3 separate regions of the Homo sapiens genome follow, and all the other regions are linked to region 3. Evidence: promoter capture Hi-C in 16 types of primary human blood cells and fetal thymus (Javierre and others, 2016). All regions are on one chromosome and are shown on one strand. The core of a region is centred on a gene start or on the middle of the fragment in contact, and the rest is flanking DNA. Distances in the headings are between cores, read along the strand shown. Region 1 overlaps TRAPPC12 (trafficking protein particle complex subunit 12). Region 2 overlaps TRAPPC12 (trafficking protein particle complex subunit 12). Region 3 holds the start of ALLC (allantoicase).

Region 1 (3,477 bases), core at 337-2,836, 270 kb after region 3:
AGATTTTGTGAGAATGGACATATAATTTGTAGCAAAATAGCTTCTTCACTTCAAGGGTTTCCTTACTCTAATCTTATTCCAATGTAAGGTTCAAATGCAAAGCAGACACTAGTAATAACCATGTATATATGACGAGATAGTTCTATAACCATAAAAAAAGTATAACCAGTAGTTAAGTCTTCCTACAAAGAAAATATAGGGTCCAGAGGGTTTACCAGTGAATTCTACCAAAGATTCCGTACAGATAATTCCTACAGTACAAAAATTCTTGCAGAGAAGAAAAAAGACACATGACCCAATTCACTTTATAAGGCTAATATAACCTTGAGACCAAAATTTGACAAGGCCATACTAAAAGGGAAGCTATCATCTCACTCATGAACACACATGCAAAAATCTTGAAATATTAGCTAACTGAATCAGCAATGTATTTATTTTCTACCAAACTCAGGTAATCCCAGAAATGTACTGTTGGTTTAATGCGATAGATTAAATAAAAGTACATGACTATCTCAATAGATGCACAAGAAAGTATCTAATAAAATTCAGCATCTGCTCAAGATAAAACCTGTCAGCAAACTAGCAACAGAAAGTAACTTCCTTAATGCAATCAAAGGTATCTACCAAAAACCTAAAGGAAACCTCAAATTAACAGTGAAACGTTTAAAGCATTCTCTTTAAAAGTAGAAAAAAGATAAAGATGTCCTCTTCAACATTTTTATGCTGCCTAATACTGGAGTCCTCGGGCAGGATTAAGGCAAGAAAAATAACTAAAAGCTACAATAAAAACTGAAAAGAAAAAAATACAAACCTTCATTCTTCGTGTATGATTATTTATGTAGAATACATCAAAAATCTATGGTATAAAGACTGAAATATTGGGCCAGGCACGGTGGTTCAGGCCTGTAATCCTAGCAATTTGGGAGGCCGAGGAGGGTGGATCACCTGAGGTCAGAAGTTCAAGACCAGCCTGGTCAACATGGTGAAACACTGTCTCTACTAAATATACAAAAATTAGCCAGGTGTGGTGGAGGGCGCCTGTAATCCCAGCTACTTGGGATACTGAGGCAGGAAAATCACTTGAACCCAGGAGGCGGAGGTTGCAGTGAGCCGAGATCGCACCACTGTGCTCCAGCCTGGGCAACAGCAGCGAAACTTCATCTCAAAAAAAAAAAAAAAAAAAAAAAAAAAAAAAAAAAAAAAAACAAGACTGAACTATCACAAGGGAATATGTAGCACACATCAAAGGAAGAGACGATTTTCCTTGAGTGATGTGTAGACAAATCATGCAGCTGGGAAAAAATAAACTTGGAATCTTGTCTCACCACAGACACAGTATCAATCTCAGGGACGTTAAAAACTTAACTGTGAAGGCCGGGTGCGGTGGCTCACGCCTGTAATCCCAGCACTTTCGGAGGCCGGGGCGGGCGTATCACGAGGTCAGGAGTTCAAGATGAGCCTGGCCGACATGGTAAAACCCCGTCTCTACTAAAAATACAAAAATTAGCCAGGTGTGGTGGCGGGCACCTGTAATCCCAGCTACTCTGCTACTCGGGAGGCTGAGGCAGGAGAATCGCTTGAACCCAGGAGGCAGAGGTTGTAGTGAGCCAAGATTGAGGCACGACATTCCAGCCTGGGTGACAGAGAAAGACTCCGTCTCGGGCGGGGCGGGGGTGGGGGATCAAAAATTAACTGTGAAAGGCAAAACTTCAAAACTTTCAGAAGAAAATATAAGAGAATATATTTTCAGAGTAGGCAAAGCCTCTTAAACTAGGCATAATCAGTACAAACCATAAAGGGAAAATGGATACATCTGCTATATTAAAATGGAAAGTTCTATCATTAAAAACCTAAAAAAAGTGAAACAAACAAATGTAACTGAGAAAGGATTAACACGAAGAATACATAAAGAATCCCTACAAATTAATAAAAGCACACTAAATGATCCATTAGAAAAATAAGCAACAGAGCTGAAAGAGGTATACCTTTGAACATCCATGTTGAGAAACCACTTGGTATTATCTAGTAAAGTTTAAAAAGCACATTATCTTATCACTTTGATAACTATACATCTTGATTTTTCCCAGAACAATTCAATTTTTCACCCATGGTTTAAGTTATTTCTATTATTTTATTAGTATTATTATTTTATGAGACATAGTCTGGCTCTGTCACCCTGGCGGGAGTGCAATGGGACGATGATGGCTTACTGCAGCCTCGATCTTCTGGGCTCAAGCCCATCCTCCTGCCTCAGCCTCTGGAGTAGCTGGGACTACAGGTGTGCACCACCACACTCAGCTATTTTTGTATTTTTTGTAGAGATGGGGACTCAATATGTTGGCCAGGCTGGTCTCAAACTTCTGAGCTCAAGTGATCCTCCTGCCTTGGCCTCCCAAAGTGCTGAGATTACAGGCGTGAGCCACGTGCTTCGCCTCAGTAAAATCATTAAGTGTCTCCTTTCACTCTTAAAGGAGTCTTGGTTGAGACAATAAATATGTGGTCGTAGTACCTAGGACCTAGCAATTCCACTGCTAGATACCTATCATGGAGGAATTCCTGTACATGAGCAGTGTAAGCTATGATGCTGAATTTCATAAATAACACATCAAAATACCTTTCTTCTAAAGTCCTAAAAGAAAAAGTAGGCTGGGCGTGGTGGCTCACATCTGTAATCCTAGCACTTTGGGAGGCCGAGGCAGGCGGACCACGAGGTCAGGAGATCAAGACCATACCGGCTAACATAGTGAAATGCTGTCTCTATTAAAATACAAAAAATTAGCCAGGCATGGTGGCGGGCGCCTGTAGTCTCAGCTACTTGGGAGGCTGAGGCAGCAGAATCACTTGAACCCAGGAGGCGGAGGTTGCAGTGAGCCAAGATCGTGCCACTGCACTCCAGCCTGGCGGCAGAATAAGACTCCATCTCAAAAAAAAAAAAAAAAAAAAAAAGTGGAAATAAACACTGCCTGTAGACACAATAATAAGTAAATAAGTAGACTGTGGTATACTAGGACATAAAATATTAAAATAGTGGTGAAAATCAGTGAACTCTTCCATATCTAACATATAAATTATGTTTGGATCTCACAAATACAATTTTGCACAAAGAATGAGTAGAAAAATAAACAGCATGACTCTGTATATTCAAAAACATGTAAATTAAACAAAAGTGTTGAATCCAAACACTTTTTCTGTGTTAGGAACACAAACATATTTGGTCAAACTACAAAGAAAAGCCAGGATATAGTAACAGCCACTTTAGTGAGGGAGGGGTGGAAGGTGATGGCAGGAGAGCTTGACTGGGGAGGGACACACGGAAGTTTCAACGCACTGGGAAATGGTCCCCATCTTATGCTGGTAATGGAAGACTGGGTTGACTTGATCTTTAAATCTCACATGTGTGTTACGGGTAGTCTTTATAGTTCATAATTAAAAATGGAAAAACACAAGTATCTGTTCTTGATTTGTACGTGATAGAAA
Region 2 (3,277 bases), core at 526-3,025, 260 kb after region 3:
AAATCTCATCAATGCCTCCATGCTTGCCTGGACCTCCAGGAAAGCCTGGAGGGCTAGGGCTAAAGAAGTTAAATTACCAATGGCCCTCTCTTCAGTGCTGAGGTCACCAGCCAAGCCAAAGGAAAACTGAGACCCCCTTTCACAGCAGGTCCTCGGTAGCCTCGCTGAGCCAGGCCTTGCTCCAGGAGCTGCTGGGCGCACTTCATGCTGCAAGCCAGGGAAGAATCCAGTTGCCTCTGCACGGGACCGTTTCTACTCCTGACCTGACTCCTCTGATTAGAACGATCTTTAGACGGTGCTGAAGAACACTGGACGTGGAATCTGAAGCATGCCACTTGCTTTAAAGGGAAGACACAGAAGGGCAAGGGGAGGGAGAACAGGTGCTTTTGTGTGGCCTGGGGACAGAAGAGATGTGCCAATGACCTGCCCTGAGCAGGGAGCAATCTCACAGCTAGTGTCAAGCCCAGATGCTGGGCGAGCCAGCCTTCATGACCCTCGGGAGTCGGCACAGTTCAGGGGCCCCAGGGAAGGGCCTGAAGTTACCAAGTCTGTTGTATGGGGACAAACTAGTCATCCCAACAGTGCAGAGAAAACTGTCACAGTCCACAGGCCTCAGTGCTGTTTCGGTGGCTGCACCGCAGGCCGAGGGAGAGTCCAGGGTAAGTAAAGGCTGCTCACAGGACACGATGCTCTCCACGGGCGGCAGGAGACGCCTCTCACACACAGCTGGGACCAGGACACAGCCCTGGACCATCTCTCTCCTTTCTGGGGGTGCTGCTGACTGAGGAAAGGCACCTGGGAAGGGGCAGCAGCACTGAGGTCCCTGAAACACCTGAGGCAGGGGCAGCTGGGGGGATAGAGCAGCCCAGGGGGAAAGGGAAGCAGCGCTGAGGTCCCTGAAACGCCAGAGACAGTGAGTATCCTGGGAGGAGGAAGCAGTGGCTCTGAGGTCCCTGAAACGCCAGAGACAGTGAGTATCCTGGGAGGAGGAAGCAGTGGCTCTGAGGTCCCTGAAACGCCAGAGACAGTGAGCATCCTGGGAGGAGGAAGCAGTGGCTCTGAGGTCCCTGAAATGCCAGAGACAGTGAGCATCCTGGGAGGAGGAAGCAGTGGCTCTGAGGTCCCTGAAATGCCTGGAGACAGCAAGCAGCCGGAGCTGGCTGGATCTTCCCTGACACGTGCTCTGGGCGTCTGGCCCGCAGCAGCTGCTGACAGGGACACAGCACAAAGTCCCTGCAGTCTCTCGGGTGAGCAGAAGAAAGACTCAAACTAGGACAACCCCAAGATGGGGGGTGGAGAAAGCCAAGATCTCTCCATCTCAGCACAAAGCTGCCTCCCAGCCACAGAGAAGCTGATGCTCATGCTGCAGGCGGGCCACTGGGAGCACGCAGTGACTGAGGGTGCAGAGAAGCCTGCGTGCCCCCTGCCTGGACTTCACCGCTGGCTCAGATCTCTTCCTATTGTTCTCCTACCCTTTTTTTTTTGGCGGCGGGGCGGTGGCGGGGGGAGCGGGGGAAAGAAAAGCATAGAAGTTGTTTCTCCTAAGAAGCAAGGTTATTTCAATCTTTTGCTATCTTTCAAAATAGTGACACTTAAAAGAAGAACAGAATCTAGACCATGAGAGCAAGAGAATCAGAAAAGCTGCTGACATTGCTTCTCTGCTCTGCTGCCTCCCTTCTACCAGGAGAGATCAACAGCCTGCGGCAGAAGGGGCTGGGTGGCTCCAGGTCATAGGTCTGTCTCTTCCCTGGGTGCTAAACCTGGTGCTCGCAGAGGCCAGCCTCACGTTTTCTCACATTGAGGAAAAGACCTAGGGGCAGCAGTTGTATAATTTCTGCTTTCAGAGCATAAGGTGAAGTACTTCAAATACCAGATCCACAAAATCAGCTAACTGATCTAGCAGCAATAATTAAAAGGCAAAATAAAAGAGTTCAGACACAGGGCCCCATAAAGCTCTGCAAAAATGCAACTCGTCTCAGACAAAGAGCATCTCAGCCAGGGGGGCAGCGAGCTGGGTAAAGAGCAAAATCAAATTGTAATGCCAGGGACGGAGGGCCAATTCAACTCCTCCATCCCCACAACATTATCAATGAGACCATGCTGTGAAAATCTCTTGTCCTTAAAATTCTCTGTTAGTTAATATTTTAGCTACCACAGCAAGTTCCTGAGATACTAGCATATGCATGACTATCAAATATCCCACCAACAGAGGGCCAAGGATGTGACAAGCGTCTTAGGACAAACCTCGCCCTTGCTGTGTGGCTAACTGAAGGTGGTGACAGCGCAGGGAGGTGGAGACGCTTGTACTGCATCTCCTCTAGCCGTTACTGTGCAGGGGAGGTGGGAGGGGGAGGGAACTTCCCCCAGGGCTTTCTAGAGAGCTGTGCTACTACACCTGGGATGGAATCCAGCTAGAACCAATGATTCCTTCAGACCAGCAAGCCATTCAGTGAGGGTCTACTTTATCCAGGGCAAGGTTCAGGGAACACGAAGGAAACACATGAATATATCACAATCTGGGACTCATCGTGATGTCGCCACCCCATTCTCCTGGTCAGGTGCATTTATGGAGGAGCAAGTGGCTGTTCTCACGGCTGACAGGCGGTTAGGGCCTGGCTGCCTTTCCTGCAATGGGGGAATAGTCTCAGTAGTCCCTTCTTGATTTTGATGGTGAAAGACAAAACAGAAGCCAGAGCAGTGGACTGAAAGCGTATGGGCCTTACTGTCTGGGAAGCCCAAAGACACAAATGCTCACGGGGTAGCGCTGCTGAAAGGCAGCAGCCCCTGCACCTGGCACAGAACACGCTGAGCTTTCTGCCACATCGCCAATGCAGAAAGGTGCCTGTTTATCCTGGCAGGGTCTATCCTCTGATCCAGTGTTTGCTTACTCCAGGGAAAAATGAGACCACCTGAACAAAAAAACCACAACAATTAAAACCCAAACCCAAACTCAAGGATGTGGAGCAACTGGAACCCTCACACACCACATCATTGGTGGGGAGTCAACATGGAATAGCCATTTTAGAAAACTGTCTGGCGGGGCCTCAAAATGTTGAACAGAGTTACCACAGAATCCAGCAAGTCCACACCTAGCTATACATCCCAGATCACTGAGAACACATAGACACAAACGCCTGTGTGTGAATGTTCACAGTAGCATTACTCACAACAGCCAAAAGGTAGAAACAGCCCAAATGTCCACCAACTGATGAATGAATAAAAAGCAGCAGTAATTTGCTTCTGTCCATTTCAGGGTAACTGGGACTGGACTGTCTTG
Region 3 (3,182 bases), core at 551-3,050:
GCTGTTATGTGAAAAGTCTCCCCACCCCTAAGATAAAAAAATGTGAGAAAGGAGAGACCGTTTAAAGCTGGGCCTCCAGGCCACAGCACAGGCCCAACCAGTGTCTGCTGTGAAAGGGCCGTGACATTTGTCTTTCCTAAGTTTCTCTCCTCAGCCACAAATCCCAGAAGTATCCACAGTGGCCTGTGCTGTGCAGGGCCCCGTGGAGGTTCCCGAGAGATTCCAGGCAGCCAAGAGCTGGCGGTATAAGGGGCCGTTCTCAGCCCTGGTGGAGGTCACAGCTCCACGACTCTTGCGCCATGAGCTTGCTGAGCTCTCTGCTCACTGGTCCCTGCCGTTTCTGTTGATAAAATAGCCAAGGTCTAGGCAAGAAAGGAAGGAGCCACGCGACCTCGGCTGAGGCCACCAGCTCAGCAGCTCACAGTGCTCAGACAGCCTGTGGCAGCTGCTTCTAAGCTCATTGCTGCAACCCCTCCCACTGCCTGCTCAAGGGAGCTCTTAAATACATTTTCTGCTGTGGCTGAGACCAGACCCAGGGTCAGCTCTGATGTTTGAGGAACATGCTAAAGTTTTACCTGCAAATTTCAACTTAATCACCGCAAATGAGGAGCATTGTCATGGGTTACGGCAAGGCGATGAGGCAATGACTCTCTAAAATAGAGTCATGAAATTTCAGGCAGTCAAGTGGTGCTCACACTATTTTTTCTTTTGAGATTAGCCTTAAAATAAGAAAAGGCATGACCAGGCAAGTCTAGGAAGCACAAGAAAGAGAGACCTCCCTCTGACAAGCAGGGAAGGCTGTGCTGATGGAAGAGTTACTCCCTCGTAAAGAAGAAAACCTTCAGGGGCTTTGTCATCGCTGTCAATAAGTTCCGAAGAAGCCTTTGGCCAAAAGTATGAGATTTATGGTGAAATAATAAAAGTGGTTTGTTCAAATTTGGGACAAAATTAGAGTGACCTTGAGCAGGGACTCTGAGCAGCCCAAGGTCAACTGCACGAGACTCCTGACTACCGGCAACTCTTGGTATATATTTACATTTAGTTCTACTTTGTGACTCTTGTTTTGAATATAGGTTTACTTCACCATGGCCTTAGTTGTTTAGGTTTTTTTTTTTTTTTTTTTGAGACAGGGTCTCACTCTGTCATCCAGGCTGGAGTACAGTGGCATGATCTTGGCTCATTGCAACCTCCACCCCAATCCCATCCCGGGCTCAAGCAATTCTCCCATGTCAGCCTCCCAAGTAGCTGGGACCACAGGCACGCACCACCATGCCTGGCTATTTTTTTGATTTTTGGTAGAAATGGGGTCTTGCCATGTTGTTCAGGCTGGTCTCAAACTCCTCAACTCAAGCAATCCACCCACCTCGGCCTCCCAAAGTACAGGGATTACAGGCATGAGCCACCATGCCCAGCCTCTTTAGATTTTTTTTTAAGAAGGCCAAAGTCACATGATTTGAAACCAAACAGAGCAGTGACCAGAGCCCAGAAGCCTGACCCACCTGTGGGGCCCCTCCAGGTGTTTGGGCCACGCCCGGTACCAACACAGTTCAACGGCACAAAGTGGTGTCTGTCACCATCTACCCTCTGTCACCTTCCAAGTGTCGAGGGTTCGTTGCATGACTGAAATTCATCTCTGTCACCCTATTCTTTTGGCAAAGCCCACCTTAAAGATAGCAAGGTATTTATAAACCACACTCCAGCTCACCCAGCAGTCAGAAATCAAGTATTCATAAATGGATCTCTTGCTCCCCAGAAGCCAGCCAAGGTCCCACGGTGCTTGAGTGCCAGCTCAGAGAGAATGTATAGGGGCCTGAGGTAGAGACAGAACTTTGCAGAGATTGGCTGTGCCTGTATGATGTCACAAGGGTTGCAGAGAGGTGGAAGTAACAGGGGGAGCAGCCCCTCCCCGGAGAAGCCAAGCAGGCCTCTGCAAGACCCTCGCACAAGGCCCGAAGCCAGACATGGTCCCTGCTGGTCCCAGGGCCCTTCCCTGTCCCTAACAAAGCTGCCTCCGGCCACTGGCCTGGGCCTGAAACCCCCACCTTCCTGGTCCGGCCAGTAACCTGACTTAAAGTTTTATCTCTAGACGTCACCTATTCACTAATCATCATTAACTCAGAAAACACTGAGCACACCCAGCAGTGGGTCCTGACCTACTAGAGAAGACAGGGGCCCTTGGGAGGGTTTGGCTAGAGCCCCTCAGCCCCAGAAAAAGTAAATACACACAAAATTTTCATGGAATTTAAAGAAGCCCACAGATGCTTAAGAAAGGGCACCTTGCCAAGTGGATGCTAGGCCTGTGGCATACAAAACAACACGTGCCGCCTGCCTTCAAAGGCCCCACTGTCTGCAGAAGAACTTTCCATGCAGAAAGAAACAGCTGAGCCCGGCTTCGACATGCAGTAACAGACGTTGCCTTGCTTCACCACAGCCACCCTGCGGGGCAAGCTATCCACTCTGCAGATGAATCAGCTGGGGCCTTGAAGGCAGGAAAGCCACCCGAGGTCACCTGCGCAGGGAGGGACTGAGCTGGAACCAGAACCCAGCACAGCAGATGGCGCGCACAGGGGCCCTTGGGGCTCCAGAAAGACAACCTGCGTCCCAGGGAGATCCATCACCCACACGCTCCTTTTTCCTTCCTGGGTTTTCTTTCCCCAGGGCCTGACCGGCCTTCTCCTCCTGAACTCCAGCTTTCCCAGAGGAAAGCAAAGCCATTTGAAAGGCCGGCTCAAGGCCACCTCCAACTGAGAACCCCACCCCCAACCCCAGCCCGTCTCTCAGCCCCGCCACCCAGCCGTAGTTAGGATGCGTCCAGCGCCTGTTGTCTGATCTCAGCTCGCCCGGCCTTTGAGTCCATGTTTACACATCTGTCTGCCCATCCAGATGAAATTCTTTAAGAACGAAACCACATCCTATGCTGCCTTCCATAGCTGACTGTATTTTAATGAATTAATGCACGTGGCTTCGTCCCTGGCAGTTCTTGTCAGCCGTGACTTCCCCGCCACAGCAGTGCAGTGCCCCCGCTCGCCGCCTCGGATCAGTCACAAAGCTCACGGTGCGGAGAACAGAAGGGCCTATTTTTATCCTCGTGGTTTCGCTAAGCCTAGGCTGTGGCACCGATAAAGCCATGGAAGAAGGCACCCTGACCCCTGCCCTCCACACCCTGACCTCTGCCCTCCACA

Evidence for each region. The method cuts DNA at HindIII sites, captures the fragments that hold promoters and counts their contacts. A CHiCAGO score of 5 or more calls a contact.
Region 1: a contact is called between a fragment that was not itself captured here and the fragment with the promoter of ALLC in region 3, in 2 of 17 cell types (fetal thymus and naive CD4 T cells). The highest score is 6.5, in fetal thymus.
Region 2: a contact is called between a fragment that was not itself captured here and the fragment with the promoter of ALLC in region 3, in 3 of 17 cell types (non-activated CD4 T cells, total CD4 T cells and activated CD4 T cells). The highest score is 6.2, in non-activated CD4 T cells.

What each region holds. Positions count from the first base shown.
Region 1 is chr2:3,381,600-3,385,076 of GRCh38, reverse strand. All of the region lies in intron 1 of TRAPPC12 (trafficking protein particle complex subunit 12), which reads right to left. Among named protein-coding and RNA genes, the nearest start is that of TRAPPC12, 3.6 kb to the right of the region's middle. The HindIII fragment of the contact is 3,902 bases long and covers 1-3,477 here.
Region 2 is chr2:3,398,039-3,401,315 of GRCh38, reverse strand. The region is part of intron 2 of TRAPPC12 (trafficking protein particle complex subunit 12); the gene reads right to left. Among named protein-coding and RNA genes, the nearest start is that of TRAPPC12, 20 kb to the right of the region's middle. RefSeq lists enhancers at 1-418, 419-1,344, 1,345-2,270. The HindIII fragment of the contact is 5,455 bases long and covers 1-3,277 here.
Region 3 is chr2:3,656,818-3,659,999 of GRCh38, reverse strand. ALLC (allantoicase) reads right to left here and starts at 1,800. Exons shown (of 12, transcript NM_018436.4): 1 at 1,706-1,800. The HindIII fragment of the contact is 6,896 bases long and covers 1-3,182 here.